Linked DNA regions of Homo sapiens: all the other regions are linked to region 1. The links are contacts of gene promoters, found by promoter capture Hi-C in blood cells and fetal thymus (Javierre and others, 2016). All regions are on one chromosome and are shown on one strand. The core of a region is centred on a gene start or on the middle of the fragment in contact, and the rest is flanking DNA. Distances in the headings are between cores, read along the strand shown.

Evidence for each region. The method cuts DNA at HindIII sites, captures the fragments that hold promoters and counts their contacts. A CHiCAGO score of 5 or more calls a contact.
Region 2: a contact is called between a fragment that was not itself captured here and the fragment with the promoter of TRIP12 in region 1, in 1 of 17 cell types (naive B cells). The highest score is 6.0, in naive B cells.
Region 3: a fragment that was not itself captured here is called in contact with the fragment with the promoter of TRIP12 in region 1 in 1 of 17 cell types (neutrophils); the score reaches 6.5 in neutrophils.
Region 4: a contact is called between a fragment that was not itself captured here and the fragment with the promoter of TRIP12 in region 1, in 9 of 17 cell types (total CD4 T cells, fetal thymus, naive CD8 T cells and 6 more). The highest score is 10.6, in total CD4 T cells.
Region 5: a fragment that was not itself captured here is called in contact with the fragment with the promoter of TRIP12 in region 1 in 2 of 17 cell types (total CD4 T cells and fetal thymus); the score reaches 5.5 in total CD4 T cells.
Region 6: a fragment that was not itself captured here is called in contact with the fragment with the promoter of TRIP12 in region 1 in 8 of 17 cell types (neutrophils, fetal thymus, naive B cells and 5 more); the score reaches 10.7 in neutrophils.
Region 7: a contact is called between a fragment that was not itself captured here and the fragment with the promoter of TRIP12 in region 1, in 1 of 17 cell types (neutrophils). The highest score is 5.4, in neutrophils.

The regions. Positions count from the first base shown.
Region 1 is chr2:229,920,387-229,923,886 of GRCh38, forward strand. TRIP12 (thyroid hormone receptor interactor 12) reads right to left here and starts at 1,623. Exons shown (of 42, transcript NM_001348323.3): 1 at 1,494-1,623. FBXO36 (F-box protein 36) reads left to right here and starts at 2,117. Exons shown (of 4, transcript NM_174899.5): 1 at 2,117-2,223. The coding sequence starts at 2,128. RefSeq lists enhancers at 1-40, 678-1,178, 1,179-1,679, 2,336-2,395 and a silencer at 1,116-1,505. The HindIII fragment of the contact is 9,663 bases long and covers 1-3,500 here.
Region 2 is chr2:230,868,111-230,871,610 of GRCh38, forward strand. The region is part of intron 1 of ITM2C (integral membrane protein 2C); the gene reads left to right. Among named protein-coding and RNA genes, the nearest start is that of ITM2C, 4.9 kb to the left of the region's middle. RefSeq lists enhancers at 1,440-2,097, 2,098-2,755. The HindIII fragment of the contact is 4,603 bases long and covers 1-3,500 here.
Region 3 is chr2:230,813,705-230,817,204 of GRCh38, forward strand. CAB39 (calcium binding protein 39) reads left to right here. Exons shown (of 9, transcript NM_016289.4): 7 at 345-410. Among named protein-coding and RNA genes, the nearest start is that of ITM2C, 49 kb to the right of the region's middle. The HindIII fragment of the contact is 6,201 bases long and covers 1-3,500 here.
Region 4 is chr2:230,793,628-230,797,127 of GRCh38, forward strand. The region is part of intron 4 of CAB39 (calcium binding protein 39); the gene reads left to right. Among named protein-coding and RNA genes, the nearest start is that of ITM2C, 70 kb to the right of the region's middle. RefSeq lists an enhancer at 1-848. The HindIII fragment of the contact is 2,245 bases long and covers 591-2,835 here.
Region 5 is chr2:230,773,465-230,776,964 of GRCh38, forward strand. The region is part of intron 2 of CAB39 (calcium binding protein 39); the gene reads left to right. Among named protein-coding and RNA genes, the nearest start is that of CAB39, 62 kb to the left of the region's middle. RefSeq lists an enhancer at 1,130-1,424. The HindIII fragment of the contact is 2,198 bases long and covers 496-2,693 here.
Region 6 is chr2:230,715,716-230,719,215 of GRCh38, forward strand. All of the region lies in intron 1 of CAB39 (calcium binding protein 39), which reads left to right. Among named protein-coding and RNA genes, the nearest start is that of CAB39, 4.6 kb to the left of the region's middle. The HindIII fragment of the contact is 4,922 bases long and covers 1-3,500 here.
Region 7 is chr2:230,695,988-230,699,487 of GRCh38, forward strand. LOC124907996 (formin-like protein 16) reads right to left here. Exons shown (of 4, transcript XM_047446832.1): 2 at 316-708. It overlaps LINC01907 (long intergenic non-protein coding RNA 1907), which reads right to left. Exons shown (of 4, transcript NR_040038.1): 2 at 316-708. Among named protein-coding and RNA genes, the nearest start is that of LINC01907, 2.8 kb to the right of the region's middle. The HindIII fragment of the contact is 778 bases long and covers 1,192-1,969 here.

The sequences.
Region 1 (3,500 bases), core at 373-2,872:
CGCGACTAGGAAAGGAGACAGCAGGAGAGCAGTTAGACGTCCACTTAGAACGGATTCACTGCGCTATTAACCGTACCCGCCTCCCCCCGCACCGGCCCAACCTTTACACACAAACACATTCCCTCCCCCAATTAACTAAAGAAGCAATTAAACTATGCCCACCACCAGACTCGATGCTTAGGCTAAACCTCCCCCAAAGTAAAACAGCATTATCAAAAAAACACAACATTTGTCTTAAGGGTTTGGAAGCTGCCCCTTCCGTTATCTCCTCACCACGTAAGGTAACCAATTCCCTCCTGTCCCCCACCAGGAGTTCAAAGTGTGATTTCCCCCCGATTTACATGTGTTTTTATGTTTTTCCGCATTTTTCCGTCTAGGAAATGAAGGATTTCTTATTCTGAGGAAGGGAGAGACGCCGAGGAAGACAGGATTTGAGGTTTTACTACCTTCGTTATTCGAACTCCCCTCTAACTTGTTCCTGTACTAGAAACCCACTCACTATGGAGAAGGAAGGAGAGGGGCTGAACTGATGGACAAACGTTGTAAATAATAGGTTTTATGTAATCCACATATAAATAAATTAATCGCCTGACTCGCTCTGAATGCTAATACGATTGGGGTGACAATTGGCCCACCTCCCTCCCCCAAGTCCTAGTTAAACCCACCTACCACCAATTTCCATTCTGATCTATTTAAAAGGATACTCTATTCCTCTCAGTCAAGTTTCTCGGCTTCTTTAGGCCTCCCTGCATGCCCCCCTCGTCATCATCCTCCCTCAGCCTCAACTTCCCACGGCTTAAAAAACTGCCCCGCGCAGACCCCGTCTCCGGGCTCGCCCTCCCTCAACCGTCCCTCGCCGTCCCCCTGGGCAGGAAACCCCTTACTGCGGTCTAAAGTCTCTCTGGCCTCTCCCTTCTCTGACCCTCGCTTCCCACAACTGTTGTCACTGGAGCTGCTTCCTAGTTTCCATTTCCGGGCCGTCCACGGCCCCGGAGCCTCCCCTTTCCCGATTTCCGGGCCCCTCGTCCCATTTCCGGGGAACCCTTGCCGTCTTCACACCCCCCACCTGCACTTCCGGCCCCCCACTTTCTCTCTTCCCAGACACCCTCCAAGCTCCAAAGCCCACTTCCGGCCCCCCTTGGTCCCCGCCGAGCTCCCCAACACCCGCAAGCCTTACCCCGGTTCTGTGAAGGGCCCTCCTCATTGCGGGAAGCCGGAGGAGGGACCCAGCGACCCCTACCTCCCGCCAGGCCCCGGTCCCTCCGGCCGCGGCCGCCCTCGAGCGTCTCTCCCGTCCACCCCCGGCCCGGTCCTTCCGCGGCCCCGCCGCCGCCGGCGCCGGGAGCAGGCCAAGCGGGGGCCGAATCGCGGCGATGACACAACCGGGCTTCCTGGGACTTTCTGTTCCAGCTCCTCCCCCCGCCCCCCCAACCCCTCAGCTGGCCCCCTCCCCCAAGGCTTGCCCCCGCCGCCCAGAGCTGCGCCCCAATTACCTAGTTAGGCCCCAAAGTCTCCGGTCCGGACTCGGTGGCGCGGCAGTAACTTCCACTAGCTCCCCCCACCCCCCCCAGCGGCGCGGCGGCGGCGGCTCCGGGTTCCTTCAATTATCAGCTGAGCCGCAGCACCGCGCCCGGCGTGCGCCTCCGCCCGTGCCGCCTCCCTCCCCGCCTGCTCTGACACCCTCGGGGAACTACTTTGTCCTCGGGCTCCGGTTACGGGCTCGTCCGCGGGACCGGCACCGCTGCCTACTGGCGGCCCATCACATCGCCCCTCCCTCCCACGCCTCCCGGCTCGACTCTCTCAGCAGCCTCCGATCTCCGCCCGATCCCTTCGAGGGACCAGGAAGGGGACTGTGGAGATCTACTTGGTATCCCTCCGCCGGGGTCACCCCCTCCCCTCCGTGGTAGCAGGAACTAATTCCCCCTCGGGTCACCCGGGACCTGGAGCTGGAAATTTCACGGATCAGGGTTCCCTAAGACCCTTGGAAGAGGGGACGATCGCCCCAAGTTAGAAATCCTTCTGCCAGCTCATAAGCGTGGTTCAATTTAAACTAGGGTTTTGGCCCCTTGACCCCAACCAAGCCCCGCCCCTTCCTGGTTGTCTTAGCGACGGCGGTGGCGTCCCAAGATGGCGTCGTGGCTGCCGGAGACTCTCTTTGAAACTGTAGGACAAGGCCCGCCGCCTAGCAAAGACTATTACCAGTTACTGGTCACCCGGTCTCAGGCAAGTGCGAGCCGCGGTTTACCCTCTCTCCTAACTCCCTACCTGGCCCGGTTGGGGCCCGGGACGCAGGCTGTGCTAGGCCAAGAGCAACCGTAGCCCGCCGGAAGCGCCCAGTCCCGGCTCCGCGCCGGGAGATTTTCCTCGTCACCTCGGCCTCCTCGGTCCGACGGCCCGCGTGTCCCTGCTCTCCCCGAGCCCGGCTAGTCCCTGGCAAGCCTTCTCTGCCTCCCCGCGGTGCCGCGTGCTCCTTTCCCGCCACCCCGGCTTCTTACCCGTAGAGTTTCCTCCGCGCGAAGAGGAAAACGGGCGTCTCCGGCTTGCGTGCGGCCTCACCTCAGCGTGAGAAGGAGGGAAAGAACGACTCAGCCAAGTGTCCCAAGGAGGAGCCGGCTAGGGAGGGGAAAAGGAGATTGCCTCTTTTCCAGGATAGGAATTAATCATGGAGAATTTTATAAATCTCTTTGTGGCCTTTACGCGTGCCACGGCCACATCAAAACTTAGTTATTTCTAGTAGCAACTGACGATTGGGAGCTCTTACCTTTTGGAGTCCCTTCTATCCCATTGAAAGTGTGCGGGTGGTGGTATAAAAATGTTTCAGCTGCTCTGCGCTTCAGCCCCACCCATAATGACATCTGCTCCACAACAATAAGACCGAGGATTATATTATCTCCAAAGTAACCATCGGCCTATTTTTATGCCTACTTTGGTTATTGAAGGTGGGCTTTTGGATGATTTACTGTGTCCATGAAATTCTCAACTTGAGCGGGGCCTCCATTGGGAAGACGTTTCTAATCCTGGCTGAGTTTACGCCTGTCACTGAGTTATTCATGCACCCTGCCCTTTCAATAGATACTATTCCTATAAAATGAAATTTAGAAGTTTGTATATATTTGTTTTGGTGTGCATATTGATCATTCCCTCAGTTTTTCCAGGAGCCCTTAAACAAAATAGGTAATGAGTTAATTTTTTTATATTTTTGAAAGCATCTTTTAAAATATAAATGTTAATATATATTTTTTAATTTAAGATTTAGAAATATTACAAATGTAAAATCAGCCTGTCCAAAAAAAATTTTTTTTAAAACAGTACTGCTCCTTGCGGAGCAGGGCTAATTCATAGGCAGTGGGCCCAGGGTCAGACTCAAATTTTTAATTAAACTGTTCTTAGGGGGTTTTGCACATTTAGTGATGTATGAAATACTGAAAGGTATCCTTTTCTGTACTTTTTTTTTGGTGTTGTTTTTTTTTTTTTTTTTTTTTTTTGAGACGGAGTCTCGC
Region 2 (3,500 bases), core at 499-2,998, 950 kb after region 1:
CCCTCTCGGTGGGCACTGCCCCTGCTTCTGAGCAAAAACTGCAACACAAGGAGGATTTTGTCTGTGGACCTGAGACTGGAAGGAAGTGCCTCAGTGGGCCAGGGAGGGATGGGGGTGGGGGCCAGCTGGGCTTCCAGCTGCCCGGCCTCCCCCCCTGGTGTTTTGACTCTGAGATAATGAGGAGCTGGGACACTGCCAGCTTGGGAAGTGGGCTGGACCGGAAGCACCCCCTGGGACAGCAAAGCACTCCCTCCCAGCGCCAACTGGATCCCTCCTCCCCTTTGGGGGCCCACTGGCTGGCCATGCCCCTCTTAGCCTGCCCCTTCTCCCCACACCCTGCCTGTGCCTGCACTCACACACACACACACACACACTTATGCACACACATGCACGCACAGATGTGGGCATGTAGAGGCTCACGAGCTGGGGCTGTAAGGGGAGAAAAACAAGTTAAATACAATCATCTTCTTACCTCTGTAATTTTCTCCTTGGCATTTGCCTTTGATTAATGGTCCTGTGTCACCCCCTCCCCAGCCTGCATACCTGGGGATCAGATTTCAGTTTCCTAGTGTGTCCTGGTCTCAGGCCCTCGGCAGGAGGAGCTGGGTCTCCTGGAGCGGTTGGGGGAGGGTCCCGTGCCAGCCAGGAGGGCAAATCTGGCCAGCTTAGCCCTACCCCAGTGTCCTGATGCCCACTGGCCAAGAGGGCCTGGCCCGAAAGCACTTTGTGGAGCAGCGGCCCTGCTCCATCCAGGTCCTTCCCTGTGGCAGCGTGGGGACTTTCATGGCTGTCGTCCATTCCTGGGATTTGGCGCCCCGGCAGGCCCCACGGTGGCTTCTCTGCTTTCCTGCCGCTTCTCTCTCCATTCCCTCATTTCTGCTCTCTTCTCTCAGCAGTCCTTGCATGTTTCAAGACCGTCAGCAGATTGCCAGTGAGGATGAGTTTCTCTTAGTGTGGAGAAAAAATGTTTATGGTGAAATCACAGAGGCACAACCTGGCCAGCCCCTCTGTCCACCGCCCCACTCTCTCCAAGTTCCCTCTCCCCATGAGGGCTCTTCCAGCAGTGAGCTTTTGTTGTCTGGAGATGCCTTGACTATCAGGGATGGAAGAGAAGAGGGAATTCGCCTGGCCCAGCCAAGCCGAGAGCGCATCTGCACAGATGCTGCCCGTGGGGCCTGCAGTCTGGAAGGGAGGACAGGAGAGTGATGGGGACCCCTGACCCTGTTGGCAGATGGCATCTGTGCCTCTGGACCACTGGGCTCTGTGTGCTCAGGTGGACAGTGTTTGCCCACTCTCCTCTCCCCCAGCTAGGCTCTGTCTTGAACACATACAAGACACACACACTCGGTGGGTGCCCTGGCCTCTGTGGTCTGGAGCCTGGGAAAGAAAGCTGCTGAGGACCAGGAGAGATGTGGGGGAGGTGAGATGAGACTGCCTCCCCAACCCCCATCTTCCCTGTTCTCAGCCTGGGCCTCAGGAGTGCGTTTCTGGCTGCCGAACCCCTCCAGGCAGGCTGCAATCTGCAATCATCGTTAAATCGGCTTGCAGTTAATTTGGACATTGTTACTGGGGGATGGGGCCCGGGAGCGCTCCCTTCCAGCTGTGGGGGTCTGCCGAGTTAATGCTACAGTTGGCTGGTTTCCCCCTGACCATTTTGGCCCTGGCTTTGGTAAATCATTTAATGAGTGCCCCTGTGGGTCTCAGTTTAAGCCTGCAGGGAGAGGCCCAGGCCTCTCTCGGGTCCCTGGACTTCCGGCTCATGCGCCCTTCGCTCAGAGAGCTCTGTTGCCTTGGAAACAATATGCAATATTTTTCTACTATCTAAATGGGAGCCCCCCTCCTCAGATACCTCACTGTCAGTAACTGCTTCCTATGGGGAGCAACATTTTTCTGGGTCCCCAGCATGATAGGTGGTGCGGCTGGGGTCTCAGGAAGGTGGGCCATTCGGCCATCTTTCTAGTGAGCTGGGCACCAGGGATCCCAAGGGGCCAGGGCTCTGGGTTGAGCCCAGGCTCCCTGATGCCCCACTGTCCCCAGACAGGTGTAAATACCCCGAGATCACAGGCTGCTTTGAGGGCCAAAGGGACAGTGAGGGTTCCAGGGCTTTGGTGTTTGAGCCTTGGTGTTGATTGGGCACAGTAGGCAGAGGCAGCGCTGGGGCGGGATTTAGGAGTTCTGCCTCTGTGTGGGGCTTTATGGAGGAAATGCCTTCGCCTCCAAGCAGGGACATCTGCGCTTTCCTGTCTACTTTCTGGTAGCCTGTAATGCTGCCTTCTGCACTTCTGCTCATAATGGTGCCTCTGAGGGTTTGGCTCTGCAGGCTGGAGCGGAGCTGGGAGGGTGGCAGCGTGGCTGAGCCCGGGTGTGTGCTGGGGGACATCAGCAGGGCCATGAGAGAGAAGTGCCCACCCGCAGTCTAGGTAAGGTGGGGGATCCCCAGCCTTCACAGTGAGGGGTCTTGGCAGGAACCCCTGCCCTTCTCTGCCACACCTGCCACTGCTGCTCTTCAGCTGGGGCCGTGGAAGCCTCACCTTCTCCCTGCTCTGTCTTCTCTAACCTCCCTCGGTGGGGCCTCCGAGCCCAGCCCCTCCCCCAGGACAGGGAGACACGGGACCCAGCTCAAGTTCTGCAGACCAGCATTAAGGCGGAAAGGCGGAAAGGCGAGGCTGCCCTTTGCCATAAAGCTAGCAGGCCTCACCTTGTCGGTGAATTTGATTTGTGGAGCAGGCCCTCGGGCTCTCCCACGTAGCGCTTTGACTTTTTTTTTTTTCCCTTTTCTGTCTTTCTGGTTGTTAGCAATCTCACAAGCTAGTTTCCCTGGTTTTCCAGAATGCAGAAGCAAAAGTCTGGCCACAATGCAGCCTCAACAGCTGTCCACAGAGTCAGCCCTAAAAAGGAAAGGCTCGGCTGATAAAGATCTGCTATTTTTATCTAGCACTTGATCCTTTACAAAGGGCTTTTAGGTTCTTTGTCTCGTTTAATCCCAGCAAAACCCCTGTCACGCAGAGTCTGTCCACATTTTGCATGGGAGACCCGAGAAGGGGGAGGTTGCAGGGCCCCGCTGGGCCTGTAGCCCCACTTGACCCCTAAATACAATCTGAGCCCTGGTGTTTGTTGTGTCCCGAGGGCAGATTTCCCAGCTGCTGTAGGCAGCCTGGCCTGTGTCAGGGTCAGCCACCTTTCCTTAAGACCTGCTCAGGAGCGCCAGAGGGGCAGGAGGGCATCCCTGGTGCCTGGTTTGCAAGAGCTCCTGGGTGGTTCGATCCCTGGGAGATGCCAACGGAAGGTGTCACCCCCGTCTCTTGCTGCTCCCGGGAGTCCATTGGAAAACCAAAGCCATTTAGTCCCAACCCCCTGTGGCCAGCAGCTGTTCCTGAGGGCCCTGTGCACTGTGGCCATGCCCGTCACTTGCTGGTGACCTTGGTTAGTGCCCCTGGCTGCTGAGGAGATGACAGTGGGCAGGTGGTCCATATGATCACGGGACCCCTAAAGCAGGGCAA
Region 3 (3,500 bases), core at 643-3,142, 890 kb after region 1:
GAGGGGTATGGGAGTTAGGTTTTGTGCATAGGGAGCTTGGGGTGACAGAGAGGCCTGGATTTAAGCTCTGTCTGCAGGCCTGGCTGGAACTGGGAAGGGGCTCAGTCCCAGGAGCCCTCTTCATGGAAGGGATTGGTGGGATCACCTGAGAGTCTCAGAGCAAACATGTCAGAGGAAGACATGAAAGAGAGTGGCAGGGGAGCCAGGGCAGCTGTTGGCCTTCATGGTGTGAGAAATGTGTCCTTAAGCTAATTTACAATGTTACCTACCAGTCTTTTTTTTTTTTTTTTTTTTTTTTTTTTTTTTTTGGCAATAACCCTGATTTATGTTCTCTTATCTTTTAGTTTTTCAGTGAATATGAGAAGTTACTTCATTCAGAAAATTATGTGACAAAAAGACAGTCACTGAAGGTATGACAGACCATTTTGTATAGCTTATTTCTCTGTACCTTGTGTTTGAAATGTGGATTTGGGGAAAGGGAGATGTGCAGGATGGGTCATAGACCTTTGGGGGAAATAAATACCTTTGCCGAGGGTCAAGATTTTTGCGGAAAGGAATGGAGTTGGACAGTGATCCATGTGGAGCACTTTCCTGCTTCCTAGTAAGGTGGAGACACAGAAAGGGAATGAACGGGAGTTTGAAGAAGACTTCATCTCCTAGCAGTGCATTCTTTGCGATTTTGAGCCATAGTCATATCAGCTAGATGAAGGCACTCCAGGTGCTGTGCTCCTGGGCTGTGGCCTGGGTGGCACAGGCAGGTGTGTGAGGGTGGAGGGAGGCGATGTGCGTGTGAGGCTGTGGACCGTAGACAGGCTTGGCTGCTTTGTATCAAAGCAGGATATCCTTTGCAAGTTAGAATGTTAAATTTAAGATTTAAACTGTAGAACAAGGGTTGGCAAACTACAACCCATGGGCTAAATCCAGCCAGCTGCCTGTGTTTGTAAGTAAAGTTTTACTGGAATAAAGACGTGCTCATTTATTTACATATTGTCTGTGGCTGTTTTGAGCTCCAGCAGCAGAATTAAGTAGATGCCTCAGAGACCCTATGTTCTGCAAAGTCTAAAATATTTACTGTTTGGCCCTTGATAGTTTGCTGACCCCTGCTGTAGAAAGTTCTTATAGCAGTTAAGAAGTGCATACCCTCCACTCTGTCAGTAAGCAGTCCCAACAGGAGATATAGATGAAATCACAAAGGATTTGAGGGGAAAATCATAATTCCATTCAGTTTTTTGCCAGGTCCATTTAAAATTTGACTCTGCCCAGAGTTCTTCCCCTCATGGGTGTCTGGACCGATAATGACCAAGATTCCATCCACTCATCCCCTTCCTACCGTGGGGAAATCTCCCTTGAAGACCTTATCTTTCTGTGGAAAAGACTAAAGGACACTAGGAGCATCTGGAATACTTTGTGTCCTTTGATAGGAACACTCCACCGTCCACATTTTCAATCAGCACTTTCTTTCAGAACAGCATATGCCTTTTTTCCGTGTAAGGCTGTAATTCCTGCAGCAGGGCATCCGTGACAGCCACAGCTGGGGAACAGGCACAGTCCAGCCAGGCCCCTTGCTTTCCATTCATTGCTGTTGCTTGGGCCCCACCTTCCCTGGCTTAGAGGATCATTTGCTGTCCTTTCATCTTTGGGGGGTTGGACAGAACTTCCTGGCAGCTGTGGGAGGAGTTTCTCCTCCCTGGACATCAGTGTGTGAGAGAGTGGAGGTTCCTGGGGCCTCTCCTGCTCTGTGATCCTCAAAGGGCTGAGGTATACTACTCTTGCCAGCAGTTATACAGATGCACACAGTTCACTGGAGTCAGTATCTTCTAAGGCCACAAAGGCCAGACAGGATAGCCTAGGTTAGTAGCTTCTAGGGCCATTGTGGGAGGAAGCTGGGGCCGGGGGTGCAGGGTGGAGGTTATTGGCAAATCCATAAACTTTGACCAAATGTTGGATTCTTGGGCTGTTTGGATAAGGAGAAAGGCCTTCAAGACCCTTCTGCCATTCAGAATTACCAACATGAAAAGAAAGGCTGAGACCACCATTTCCAAGCCCTTAGGAATGGATATAAAGCAAGTTGCTGGCTCCTGCAGTTTATGTTAGCGGTGGGCCTGTGAGTGCCCCATGAACACATGGAGCGGCTTCAGCACCAGCCGTACTTTAAAGATGGATTTTAATTTGTACTCTCTTTTTCGTAGCCACATTGGCATTTATTTATTCCCATATTTATGTCGCCAGCAAATTTATATTCCCTATGCAAGACTCCCAAGTTTTTTAGTAAAGTATTACATGTTTGGGCTGAGTATGGTGGCTCACGCCTGTAATCCCAGCACTTTGGGAGGCCAAGGTGGGTGGATGGATGGAGGTCAGGAGTTCAAGACCAGCCTGGCCAACATGGTGAAACCCTGTCTCTAGCCCCAAAAATTAATTAGCCAGGTGTGGTGGCACAAGCCTGTAGTCCCAGCTACTTGGGAGGCTGAGGCATGAGAATCACTTGAGCTCGGGAGGTGGAGGTTGCAGTGAGCCAAGATTGTGCCACTGCACTCCAGCCTTTGTGACAGAGTGAGACTATCTCAAAAAATAAAAAAAGAATTACATATTTGAAGTCATCTTCCTTCAGATTTTCTTTGGTTTCTGTGATAGAAAAAGAACACGAAAGCTATAAATCACATAATACTAACTTTTCAGTCTTTGTAAGATACTGGTTGCTTCTCACCGTAAGAATAGATTTTGTGATTCACATTGATATGAAGCCTACTCCTTTCAGTTTTTCCTATGAGTTCCTTATAAAGCCTAAGTAAAATAGATTTGTTTTCTTGTACATCAGCTCATTTTTTATTTAATATGATGACAAGTTACTTATCCAGAGATCAGTTACCTGGAAACTTCAAGTATCTAGAACATAGCCAGAAACCCAGAAAGGAAGCAACAAAAGCAATTAAAGCAAAGCCACAGAGCCGCTATTTGCGCCTTTTCTTCCCTTAGCCCTCACTCACTCACATCTCTGCAGATACAGGCCTGATACGTGCTTTGCACACTGATGCTCGTTTCTCACTGCACTCTCCTGAGAGAGAGGCACTGTTCCATTATACAGATGATGGAACCGAGACACAGAGGAGTTCAGTAACGTGCTCAAGATTACAGAGCTCACAAGAAGTAGGGAGCCAGGATTGGAACCCAGGCAGGCTGGCACCAGGGACCAAGCTCTCCACAGCTCTGCCACCGCCCACAAGGACCGCAGCTTGGCACCTGCCCCACTGCCGGCTCTGCACACTCAGCCTTGGCCAGGTTGTTGGCATGTTGACAACCTGAAGAAGTGACTGCTGGTTTTAGGAAAGAGTAAGCCGTGACAGTTTAAAAGTTATGAGTTTATATGATATAACCAACTCTCCAGAAATTAGTAAACCCTTGAAGTAAACAGATGTTTTTTTAGCATTAATTGGTATAATTAGTGATGGTGAGGGGTCAGTAAGAAAACACTGGATTATCTTCAGGAGACCTAAGAAGGA
Region 4 (3,500 bases), core at 463-2,962, 870 kb after region 1:
ATTTAAAAAAGTTGAATTTCATTGAAGTATCAGTTAAGTTATATATTGAAAGACATCTCCTTTGGACATAATACGCACGCTGTAAGGCAGTAAAAGCTGCCTCTTAAATGGAGCATGGATTCTCTACAGCTTTACTTTGTTGAGTCAGCAAAGTACATGTTTATGAAGTAGTGTCCTTTGATTTTTACCTCTCTGTGTCCACTTACTAATCCATATAATTTGGTAATTCACAGTGCATCTTCCTGAAATTACTACTGGTCTAAGCAGGCATTAATGTTTGGGTAGTCTTGTCAGTTTAAAAAAGCCTGAAAACCGAACCATAGAACCAAATGCCCTTCTCCCTCATCCCTGAGCCTCATTGACTGGCAAGGTAACCTCCTGCTGTTTCACACCAGAGTTGTGTGCCAGCCCCGGGTATGGTGTGCATCTGTTTGTCCCAACATTGGTGGTGGTCTGTTCTATTAAGTTGGTGGGCAGGCATGTTCCTGGCATGACTGTTGGTGTGAATCAGCTTGCTCTACTCCTCCTGGCTTTATAGCTTGCCTCAGTCTGATTCACGTCTCTGCGGTTTAACACTTCCCCCAAGTTCAAGCTTGTTTAGACAAAGTGTGAGTCAGTGCCTGTGTTGCACGCCAGCGTTCTGTTTCCCTCTTTCTATTTCTAACCATCTGTGTTACTTCTTCAGATTTTGGGATACAGAACTTTTGGCATCTAATTTTGTGTTGTATCAATTCAGAGTTGTATGTAAAAACATGTAGTGAGCAGTGTGAAATTGTGGTGATCTTAGAGCAGCTTTCAGGTGCCTTTGTGTGTTTTTAAAGCCCATATTTCCTTTTCCATAGAAACCAAGGATTATTAAAATCAATACATTAGTTAACTCTGCTGACATTTTTCACTTCAGAGTAATCAGAGGCATGATATGAATGTTGTTAAATGGCATGTCAAGAAAGACTTTTGAGATACAATTTACAGTTTAGAGCTCTCACCTGTGCTGGCCAGAGCAGACACTTCCAGCCAGGAAGTAGCATGGAGAATGCAACTGGTGGGCCCACCGGAAGCCCCGCCCACCTCCTTTGTTGTGAAAAATATACGTACAACTAGAGGGAATATGTAACATACCGGTTCCTACCCTAAACCCAGCTTCAACAGTTACGAATGTTCTGTCATTCTTGTTCCTCTAGTCCTTGCCCCCTTTTTCCTCTGACACATGACATCACTCAGTATGCATCCCTAGTACGCATTACAAAACACAGTATAACACAGTTACGTTACCATTTGCAAACCTAATGTCTAATGCCCAATCTACAGATTTCCTCAATTTTCACAAAAATGGCATTTTACAGTTCGTTTATTTAATATTACTTCCAGGCTGGACATGGTGGCTCACGCCTGTAATACCAGCATTTGGGAGGCCAAGGCGGGTGGATCACTTGAGTCCAGGAGTTTGAGACCAGCCTGGGCAATATGGTGAAACCCCGCCTCTACTAAAAATACAAAAATTAGCCGGGTGTGGTGGCACACACCTGTAATCCCAGCTATTCGGGAGGCTGAGGCACAAGAATAGCTTGAACCCAGGAGATGGAGGTTGCAGTGAGCCGAGATTGCGCCACTGCACTTTAGCCTGGGTGACAGAGCAAGACTTGATTTCCAAAAAAAAAAAAAAGTTCCAAACAAGGCCCACAAACTGAATTTGGTTAATACTCTGAGCTCTCTTTTAATCTATAATAGTTAATATTATGCCATCTCTTTGTTGAAGCCTGGATTGTTTGTTTTGTAGAAAAATCATATATTTTAGACTTGGCATTCCTGTTGCTTCTGTAACATGTTCCACTATCTGCTAGTGATTTAACTGGTAGATAGTTAGATCTGGCTTTTTTTTATTAGATTCGGATTCACTTTGAGGGGGGCAAAAGTTCATGGATGGTGCTGTGTGCTTCATATTGGGTGGCACTGGTTATCCCATTTCTGGTGATGTTCGGATTGACCGGTGGATGCAGGTGTCCTCAGTCTGTAATCTGTCCATTACAAAATTCTCATTGACCTTTCACCTCCTGGTTTTAGTTTCCATTGAGAATCATTGCCTAGATTCAGAATGGCAGTTTCCTGATTCTGTTATTTCTTCTTCATATAATTAAATTGTTTCTATAAAGAAGAACCCTTCTTCCTTGATGACTTAGTTATCCCAAAATAGTCTCATTTTTTAGTATAATCAGGTATTTTTTTTTTAGTATAATCAGTTGATGACCTGGCCACTTCCTTAGATAAGTATTGAGTTGTTTTAAGGATCATTATAAACTCACGTTTTTGTCTTTTTAAAAATTATATTTGATATGTCTCAATCCATTCCAGTCATTACTTTCTTGTGTCCAAGTTGCCCCATCTTTGGCCCTTGGGAACTCCTTCAAGTTGCCTTCTGTGTTGTTTTGGCAAGACCCCATCAGTCTGTGATTGCTTCCTTGCTTTCTGGCGTAGGATGACCATCTTGCTCATTTTGTACGAGTCCTGCCAGACCTGGAAACAGCTGTTTCTTGAAGGAGCGCTGTGAACTGCATTTTAAGATTTTTGTACTTTTGTTAATTAATTTAGACTGCTTCCATACAGTGTGATTATCTTCTTAGGCTGTGAGTACTTCTGTTAGATATTTATTTGCGGGGCCATGCTGCTAATACTAGCATGCATTTGAAGTCGTATTGCTAGTGTTAGACTACATTTGGAGGCGATTTTTTTTTTACTGGCAATTTACATGTTAGTATGCTGTTCACTCTAGTGCTCACAGGTTATACAGCATAACTGTTTGCCTTGTATTTACTGGTTTATGGTTTAATCGTTTAGACAAGCTTGACAAGCCTCCATCAAAACCTGTTCAACTTGTACCAAACTGTCTTACCCTTGTCTTTCCTGCCTTCTAAAGCTCAGCAAAGATGAATTGTATGATCAGCCATTTTGTGAGCAGATATTTCCATCAAGTAAGAGCCGGTCAGCATTCTAGCTGCATGCCTCCACTGATGCCAAGGAGTGTGGTTTTATCTTGTTGAGGATCTGTGATGTGTAAGAGGACACCACTACTAGATAACAAATGAGTACTACAGGATTTCAGAGGATAAAATGTGGTTTGGGTTAATAAGGCAAGGGTTGATAAAAGGAATAGGACTTAAGATGGGAGTTCCTAGTAGTTTAGAATTTACACAGGCAGAAAAGAGAGAAGGCATCCTAATGGCATATGACTGGGAACAAAGGTACAGGGGCAGGAATGAACATAACATGATTGGCAGCAATAAGGAGAGAATTTGAAAGTTGTGTGGCAGGTTGGGAGGTGACATTGTGCTAGAACAGGAGATCTAATAAGAGGAAGACTGGATAGTTAAGTCCAGAAGTTTGTCTTTATTTGATTAGCTAGAAGAAATCATTTTAAGCTCCCAAGCTGGAAATGCTGTTGATACACTTGTGTGTTGGGTAGATTTATTATGACAGAGCTTGAACAAAGGTGCTGGCTAGGAATC
Region 5 (3,500 bases), core at 345-2,844, 850 kb after region 1:
GCACCCAGAAAGGCCATTGGAAGGCTAGATTGCAATACTTGAAATACACTATTGAAATTCAGCGATTATCTTCTACTCTGTATAGGCAAGTCCACACTTGAGGATGTAGAGAAACTGCAGTGTGCCAAGAGAGGAGTGACCAGGCTGACATAGAAATTCAAAACTCTACTGTGAGGAACAGTTGAATGACCTCAAGATGTGAGGTACAGCCTAGGGAGAAGATTTGAGCAGAGTAATGTTGTAGGGCGGATTTGCTCTTAGTAAAATGTATTTGGGAGACCATATAATGTAACAAAAGGATTCGAACTGATCGTGGCAGGAGGTAGAATTCAGACCCATGAGTGGAAATAAAACAAGAAGTCCAATTTTGTCTTGATATTAGGAAAAACAGTAAGTGGAAGCTGACTTTTTCAGAAGACAGCAAGTTTTCTGTTTCTGAAGAGGTATTGACATGGACTAGGTGACCACTTAGTTAAGTATTCTAGAAGGAATTCAAGCTTTGCACTGTTGACATATCCTTACATCGATATACCACCATACTTTGCAAGGTGCCTTTGTATAGAGTCCCCCATCTTATTTTGAGATAGAATTGATTCTGGTTTCCCGTGATCCAGATGAAGAAAGCTGTTATTTACTAGGCTTATTACTTTGACTCATTATATTAGAGTCAAAGACGGAATTCACACCTAGCTCTGCCAAATCCATGGTAAAATTATGCCTTTTTCCACTTTATTCATTATGTCCCTGGGCTTTTTCCATCCATTTCTTGTGATCTCACAGACAAAATGATAAATATAACATTTGAGTGTTTATTCCTTTATTTGTTATATGTTGGTATTTGTATTTGTTTTATATGGTACATAGTTACCACATTAAGAATTGTGTATGATACAAATAGATTAGTCTCTTAGGAGACTAATTCTTTTAAAAGAATTCATACAAAACTAATTTTCTTACATTTTAAAAAAGCGGTTAATGTTACCATCCTTATTTTTAGGTAACTAGGGGCAGGGGTGGGGTGGGACTTAGTCTTTCACTGCCAACAACCAAACAGATGTGGTGTATGTGGGGACTATTTACGCACTCTTCGCCCACCACATGCTGTATAAAGGAGGTATGGCTGCCTTGCTCAGCTTATAGGTGGTTCCCTTCCTTACGATGAATGCTTGTGTTCACAGGGTTGAATAGCTATATTCACTCATTTCATGAGAGGAGTAAGTTTGCTGACATATTTTAAGAGGGGGGAAAGGGAGTAGCCTCTTCATAGCATGGCCATTTAACAGTGACTCATGGTTACTAAACTTGTTTACAGTAATCTTGGACACCAGAAGGTTATTAATAGACTTTCCTTAGTCCATGATCATTCAGCTTAGACTATGCAGACATTTTCTTTAGTAAAGAGGTGGGGGTTGGGGGAGGTAGAAAGCATTTATCACTGGAATTAATGTGATAATAGAATTGTTCTTATTATCAAATACTTGGCACCAACAGTATCTGTCAGTTCACTTTTAGATTCCATTTCACATCTTGGTCTTCATTTACTTTGATATAGAACTTTCTTTTTTCAACAAGGTCATTTAATCTCTTCTTGTAGAATGAATTGATATTTCAGGCAGTAAATATAAATGGGTAAATATTTAGAGGACTCTTGTTTAAAATGATTCTTTTGTTAAAGATTGGGTTTAAAGAAACTCAAAAAAAACAAAAAATAATAATTTAAGCCTCATCATTCCCCCCAAATCTGAGCTCTTTAAGGCATTTCTTTTTTTCTTTTTTCTTTTTTTTTTTTTGAAACAGACTCTAGCTCTGTTGCGAGGCTGGAGTGTAGTGGTGTGATCTCGGCTCACCGCAACCTCCGCCTCCCGGGTTCAACTGGTTCTCCTGCCTCAGCCTCCTGAGTTGCTGGGATTACAGGCATGCGTTGCCATGCCCAGCTAATTTTTGTGTTTTTAGTAGAGACATGGTTTCCCCATGTTGACCAGGATGGTCTTGATCTCCTGACCTGGTGATCCTCCCACTGTGGCCTCCCAAAGTGCTGGGATTACAGGCATGAACCACCACACCTGGCCTCTTTGAGGCATTTCTTAACAATAACTAGTTATATGTAAGTTAGAATCAATTCAGTTATGTAAACTAATGAACACAGGTATGGAAAATTTTGCTAAATAGATCCCTTCAAAATTATTTCTAAAAAGATGACTTAACAGTGGTGCGCATTGGAGTTAACGTTTTCCTCATGCATGGTTGCCTTTGTTGTTGTCTACTGTCTTTACTTGCATCATTATCTCTTGCAAGAGATCCCCAGTTTGATTGAATCCACAGACATTTTAGTGCCTCTCTGTGTGGGCAGATAGGCATAGGAGTCAAACCTTGTCCCCGTTCTTAAAAAAGTATATAATCCAGTAGAGGAGATACACATGTAAATAATATAATATAGAGGGACTTGGGGGCGCAGATAAAATTCTGTGGGAACCAAGAGGATAAAGCAGTTCCTACGTCTGTCAGAGACAGATACAGAGATGACAGGTTTGAAGTGACGTTTAAGCTGATTTTTAAGGTTTTTGGCAGGCAAAGTGTGAAAGGGAACAGAATTTGAAACAACCTATGGCATGTTCAGAAAACAGTGACAAGTTCAGTGTGACTTTAAGAGGTGGAGATAAAGAGGAATGGTAGGAAGTAAGACTAGAGAAACAAGCTTTGGTAGAATGAAAAGGGCCTTATAGACAACCTAAGGGTATACTGAGGGGGAGTGCAAGAGGTCTTACGCTATAGAAGTCTTATGTTGCCTTACTTTGTTTTGTTTATTTTGAAATTAATTAATTCACAGGAAGTTGCTGAAATGAGTACAGGAGAACCCATGTACCTTTCACCCATATCCCCAGTGGTAACCTCTCACATAACTATATACAATATCAAAACCAGAGCATTGACATTGGTATAATCCACAGGGCTTGTTCAGATTTCACCAGTTTTACAGTTTGTGTGGATATGCATATAGCTCTATGCAATTGCATCACACTTATCTGTTCTCCAAGTCTATACATTTTATTACTTCAAGAATGTTAAATAAATAGAATCATATAGTGTGTAAACTTTTGAGATGGGCTTTCTTCCACTCAGCATCATTCCCATGAGATCCACACAAGTGGTTGTGAGTGTCACTAGTTCATTGCTCTGGAGAAACAAGTAGGTCATGGTTCCAGGTGCTCTGTCTCACTTCATCCACTTTTTTTCTTCCCCCCCCGAGATGGAGTCTCGCTCTGTCACCCAGGCTGGCATGCGGTGGCACGATCTCGGCTCACTGCAAGCTCCACCTCCTGGGTTCATGCCATTCTACTGCCTCAGCCTCCCCAGTAGCTGGGACTACAGGCGCCTGCCACGCCCGGCTAATTTTTTGTATTTTTAGTTGAGACGGGGTTTCACCGTATTAGCCAGGATGGTCTCGATCTCCTGACCTCATGATCCGCCCGCCTCAGCCTCTTAAAGTGCTGAGATTACAG
Region 6 (3,500 bases), core at 648-3,147, 800 kb after region 1:
TTTTTGAGACAGGTTCTCACTCGGTCGCTCAGGCCGGAGTGCAGTGGTGCGAACATGGCTCACTGCAACCTCAACCTCCTGGGCTCAAGCCATCCTCTCACCTCAGCCTCCTGTAGACGGGACCACAGGCTCGTACCATCACATCCGGCTAATTTTTGTATTTTTATAGAGACAGGGTCTTGCCATGTTTCCCAGGCTGGTCTTGAACTGCTGGGCTCAAGTAATCTCGCCTTGTCCTCCCAAAGTGCAGGGATTACAGGCGTGAGCCACCACGCTTGCCTGGATATCTGTTTTTTTATTTCAAGGCAGCTTACTTCCCTTCATTAGCATTTTCTACTTCAGGTTCTTGTACTAAGTCAGTTTTTTCCCATGTATTTTACATTCTAAGGTGTATTAATAAGATCTCTGTTTCTGTTTCATCACGTATGAAGTAAGATGCTGAGTAAGGCTGTATACGTTTCCTAAAGTTAATGTAGAAGAACTGCTAAGAAAGTCCAGTATAAGTATGGGGTTTGGTAACTTGATTTTATTTGAATGTTTGTATATTGCAAATACGTATGCCACACAGGGTCTTTATTACCTTGGAATATTTACTAAAGTTTTCTGTTTTGATCAACTTTTGTGGGATTACAGATTTCTTTAGTTATTGCCATACTTTCCCAAGAGCCTTTTTTCCAGATTGATGACTAATCACTCACAGTTTAGCCATCTGCCATGAAAATACACAAATCCAACCTCCCCAACCCCCAAAAATAAAATTCAGTAGTAGGACGAATTTTGTTTCAGGTATTGTCTTTTGTTTACCTTTCTGGCATTGTTTCTATTCCAGCTCTATTTTATTTTTTAATTTAAAAAATGTTTTAATTAAAAGAGATGGTGTCTCATTCTGTTGCCCAGGCTGGTCTTGAACTCCTGGGCTTATGCCATCCTCCTGCCCCAGCCTCCCAAAGCACTGGGATTATAGGCCTGACCACACTGGCCTCCAGCCCTATTTTAAAAGGTCAGGCCGAGCGGGGTAGCTCACTCCTATAATCCCAGTGCTTTGGGAGGCCAAGGTGGGAGGATTGCTTGAGCCCAAGAGTTGGAGGCCGATCTGAGCAACATAGCAAGACCCTATATCCACAAAAATAAAAAATTAGCCGGGCATGGTGGTGTGTGTGCCTGTTGTCCTAGCTACTCAAGAGGCTGAGGCAGGAGGGATTGCCTGAGCCCAGGAATTTGCAGCCTCAGTGAATTTTGATCACTGCATTGCAGCCTGAGGTGACAGAGTGATACCCCATCTCAAAAAATGTATATATAAAATAAAAATAATAAAAATAAAAATTCATTTTCCTCTTTTTCATTGCTTCTTTTAATTGGGCATTTGATTTTATGAACGTCTTTACATGTTACAGAAATGGGACTGTGGAAGGTGGATTAATTTGGATAACAGAAAAACTGGTAAACATTTTTTTTTACACACTTTGATAAAATTGTGGGGAAAAAATATCAAATCTGAATCTCTGGGTTAAATTACTTGTGACTTGTTATTACTGAGGTGTAAAGATCTGGCATTATTATGAAGTCAGGTAATCTAAATTTGCATAGCAATTTAGTCATCAGTATCTTTTGGCCATTGTAAGAAGACTTGTATTAGAGCCTTCTTTAATTACAGAAGGAATTGAGCTGTGTGAGAGTTCGTACGTTCTGTGCCCTTAGTGACTTTCCGACCGGATCCCAACCACTACTTTTTAAAAAATTCTCCTGCAAGGGTGTCTTGCAGTGAGAAAGAGAGACTGGACTCAACTCCCCTCATCTCTACAGTCCGGAATATGGGGGCAGAGCAAAGTGAAGCAAATACTTCTGCCGTCACCATTTGTAGAGTAGAACAGTCTGTGAATAAAATGATCAGTGTTCTGCCTCTGTTTCTCAGGCCCTCCGAGGATTATGAGAAGAGTTACTACAGGCCTAGGTGGCAGATCATAGACTGGTGGTGATGAAATCAGGTTAACAGCTAGTTGCCATCTGCATTTTTGGGGGGTGTTGTGCCATTTCTGTCTCACTGAGCTTCCCAGTCCCACTGTGCTTTTAACTTTTAAAACAGAAGGGGTGAGGGGACAGCAGAATTGTGGTTTATAGCAGCTGTGATGTTAAGCCTGCAGAGGAAGGCAGGATGGCATGCAGAGAATTGCGGGAGGTCATTCGGGTGTGAAGTGGCTCCAAAGGAGGGAGGTAAATCCTGCCTTGGCCCTTCATGTTGACCATATCCAGTGCATACCTATTTGTATGATCTTTAATAGCTTTTGTCTTGGTACTCAGAATATAGTGTTTAAGTTATAGATTGTGTTTGCTTGTTTATGTGTGTATTCATATGCATGTTTCAAAGATGGGGAAAATCTAGCCATTATTTAGTGGCAGTTTGTTTTTATATGGTAATTATTCTTTGGGAGCATTATCCAGCAAAAATTGTTGAGGACCACGGAAGTATGATACTGTTAAAAGATCACACACTTTATTTGGTAATACATTTGAGAAACAAAACATACATTGTGTATCTTGATCTTAATTAAGTTCCTACTTTGTGATCTTGTCTCATGAACTGTAACTTGCTCTTTACAGTGTACTGACTATTAACATGCTAGTCACTGTTGTCTCCCTCCACAGTAGATTATATATCAGCTGTATTGAGGCACTAGGAAGAAATACTTGGACAGGTTTCTGTTTACATGTCTGTAGTTAAGGCCCGCTTTTAGGTTTATAGAATTTGGAGAGGTAGTGTTAGCCAGTGGTTAAAAGCGCAGGTGCAGCCAGACTGCCTAGATTTTGAACCCTCATTCCTCTGCTGTGGGCTCTATAACCTTAAGTTCCTTCTGTCTAGCTTGAATTCCTTGGATGGTAATAGTAGACCATATCTGAGAGGGTTGTAGGACGATTAAATGAGTTGCTACATCTGATGTGCTGCCGTGTATCAGATGCCTAGACATAAGTTTTGTGATGCTCATGATAGGCTTTTCCAGGGGGGAGAAACTTTAGAACTTCAGAAACAACCTAGGCAGAATGGTTCTTTCTGCAGGTGGGAACACTGAGGCCCACCGTAACTAGAGCAGAGTTTGGTTCACTTTGAGCAGTAACAGGTGTAGCTTTCTGCAAAGTGAAGTCTCTTTTCTAGGGTTTTATGGCTTATTAGCCACAGGACTGAATCTGGAGCCTGGTTTTCTTCATTCTTTGTCCAGTTTACTTGAATTAAGTATCATACTTTATGCAGTAATGTCTTCTTTTGGACCTTTTCACTAACATTTACAAAGGTTGTATTCAAAATATATTAAATGTTCTTTGTCATATAATTCTTTTTTAAGGTTTAATATACTAATATTCATAATATTTGTGATGTAGCTGGCAAGTGATTTGGGAGGCGTGTATGAAGTTAGAAGTCGAAATAGACAAAGAATCAAGGAAAATTAACAAAAATTAGTTAGCTTGGGGGAACAAATTACCGTTTAGGTCCACTAAATGTTGGGCAA
Region 7 (3,500 bases), core at 331-2,830, 780 kb after region 1:
CCTCCCCCAGCCCTCTACCCCTCAGGCATCTTAAAAGAGGGATGTCTAAGCATGGTGAAATCCTGTCTCTACGAAAAATACAAAAATTAGCCGGGTATGGTGGAGGGCGACTGTAGTCCCAGCTACTCAGGAGGCTGAGGCAGGAGAATTGTTTGAACCCAGGAGGCAGAGGCTACAGTGGGCCGAGATCACACCACTGCACTCCAGCCTGGGCGACAGAGCAAGACTCCATCTCGAAAAAAAATAATAAAAAGTAAAAATATATATATATAAAGAGGGATGTCTAAAATAACGAAATAATAATATAAAAGTTACATTAAAGTAAAAGCCAGTAGTTGAATCTGAGAATTAGCTGGTTCAGTGAATTCCAAGAGGTTAGCAGAAGAAAATCTTCCAGCACCAGTTTTTGAGTTTCTTAAAGCTGTCAATGTCTTGTGATATTGTCCACAATCTTGGCACTTGTCACGAAAGGGCATACATGGCCTGAGCATTTTGCTGGGCTTCCTTAGTGGTCCAGGCAGCAGCTTGTCCAGGGAGAATTCATGGTATCCTGAAGGGCTGAGTCTTTCAAGGTTTATGCCAAATCGCTAAGCCTCAGCTTGTAGAACTCCTTCAGATTCTGGGAGAAAAGGCCAGCTGCAAGGCAACCCACAGTCCTGACAGGGATTTGGGCAGTCGGGTGTTAATTCTTGGTGATGCCAATTCAGGCTTGAGGAAGAAAAAATGTGAAAGTTAGTTTGGAGGACTGTAGTCAGATATTGAAGAAAACTGGAGAAATTGAAAACCTGGTAAGGATTGACAATTTGGGCAAGGCAACAGGATCTAATCAAATTTAAAGGTAGGTTCCCAAACTGGTTTTTCTATGAGGAGTAGGGAAAGGCAGCCAATTAAATCTCATCAGACAAGACAGAGTTTGCATAGTCATCAGCTACCTGCAGTGTGTAAAGAGGTCCAAGAAGACTCAAAGGCAATGCACAGGGCTGGAGTCTGATAACCAGAAGGGTGTGCTACATATTGAAACATAAAATTTCTCATTTTAGACACCTGTCTTTTGACAAAGATAATCTCAAAGAAAAATTTTTCATCATCACAAAATAAGGCTGGCCTTATTAGGTATAGTCTCACTATTTACACAGGAGCAGCAAGAATGGTACTTTAGCAGATAGGCCTCCTTAAACTTGCTTTGCTGGAAGCTTTAATAAGGTATCTCAGATTGGACGTTTGAAAGCCTCTTGAGACTAGGAAGCCACACCAAGAACTTGACATCCAAATTACTTCTGGTACCTATAAATATGAGCAAATTCCTCTCTTCTCAAGGACCCCTCAATATCCTACAGTTCACGGGCTTGCAAGGAAGTGACCTTCCTAACTTACGTGTAAGGCTGACAACTCTGTAAGTCAGAGGGCTGGCAAGCATTGGCTCCATAAAGTCAATCCTAGTTACTTTAATGTATCAGGTGATTTCTGATTAAATGAGCATCATTCTCAAACATGATATTTCAGGCAAAGTTTTGGGTGCATAATCAATATTTCCAATTATGTCCTGTTAATAAGGAAGGCAGATTCTCATTGAACCTATGCAAATAATCATATTGCCATAAAATTAAGAATACTTAATGAGAGTTTCTGAATTTTGGAGAGGTCAGGGAGGGAGAATAAGATATTTAAAAATGGTTTGTTTCTGGTTACCAAAGTCTGCCAAACTGTTACGAGTCATAGAGAGCTTAAGAGAAGAGAAGGGGGTTCCTTCATATGCAGAAAATGGAACATTAAAACCACATCTAAAACATTGCAAACAAAACCCACCATCATTCCTTATCAGTTCATTTAGTCTTAGGTAATAAATTCTTGTTCCACTGGATTTTGAGTTGGTCATCTCATGAACTAACCAGCGTCTCAACTAGAGTTCTAGAAATCCTGACTCAGTCCACTGATGTGGTCTCATAGCTGTTTGAATGATGCCGCCAGAAGCTTGCACTTAAAGTCCCTCGCATAGTCCTTTACTGCATGTCTCTGAGACAGTCCTTCTTTGTTGAAGATGAAGCACTGTGGTCTGTAGCTGATTACAAGGGCTTTCAGGGAAGCATCAGAGTAAAACAAAAAACCCTATCAGTAGATGACAAAATAAAATGGCTGTGCTTAGGCCGGGCGCAGTGGCTCGCACCTGTAATCCCAACACCTTGGGAGGCCAAGGCGGGCAGATCACAAGGTCAGGAGTTCGAGACCAGCCTGGCCAACATGGTGAAACCCCGTTTCTACTAAAAATACAAAAATTAGCTGGGCATGATGGCGCATACCTATAATCCCAGCTACTAAGGAGGCTGAGGCACGAGAATAGCTTGTACTCAGGAGGCAGAGGTTGCAGTGAGCCGAGATTGTGCCACTGCACTCCAGCCTAGGTGACAGCGTGAGACTCCATCTCACAAAAATATATATATAAAATAAAATAAAATAAAATGGCTGTGCTTAACTATTGACAATTTTCAGAAGTGAAAGATCTGCTGGGAGTTTATAACAAGAATAGTAAAACTGACAGGGATGTTGTTTGTTTCTGTGGCATGCAAACCAAAATAAGAAAATCAATCTAAAAACTGTTTTGGATGAAATATTTACAAACATAATGAGTAACCCTACTTCCAAAGAAAAGTGAATGCTATCTCCAATTTATAAAAACAGAGGAACATAATCTTTACCGAGAAAAAATCTTTAGGTATAACATATAATAATACCAACATAATATACCACTAATATACTAAACATATTGTTAGAATATATTAAGAATATATAAAGAACATAAAGTGAAGAGATTCTGTAAATATGGAATAGGTCCAAAACATCTGCATACTAATAAAACTTCACAGGTAGGTGATGTCAGTCCCCAGTTGAAAACCCCTGGCAGGGCCGGGTACAGTGCCTCATGCTTGTAATCCCAGCACTTCGGGAGGCCAAGATGGGCAGATCACTTGAGGCCAGGAGTTTGAGACCAGCCTGGCCAACATGGTGAAACTCCATCTCTACTAAATATATGAAAATTAGCCAGGCACGGTGGTGCATGCCTGTAATCCCAGCTACTCAGGAGGCTGAGGCACAAGAATCACTTGAACCCAGGAGGTGGAGGTTGCAGTGAGCTGAGGTTGCCCTCCAGCCTGGGTGACAGAGTGAGACTCTGTCTGAAAGGAAGGAAGGAAGGGAGGGAGAGAGGGAGGGAGAGAGGGAGGGAGGAGGGAGGGAGGGAGAGAAGGAAGGAAGGAAGGAAGGAAGGAAGGAAGGAAGGAAGGAAGGAAGGAAGGAAGGAAAAGAAAGAAAACTGCTGGTATAGGAGATGCTATATTCAAATTTAAAAAGTTATGGCTGGGTGCAGTGTCTCACACCTGTAATCCCAGCACTTTGGGAGTCTGACGTGGGGGGATCGCTTGAGTTCAGGAGTTCAGGACCAGATTGGGCAACATAGCAAATCCCTGTCTCAACAAAAAATACAAAAATTATCTGGGTGTGGTGGT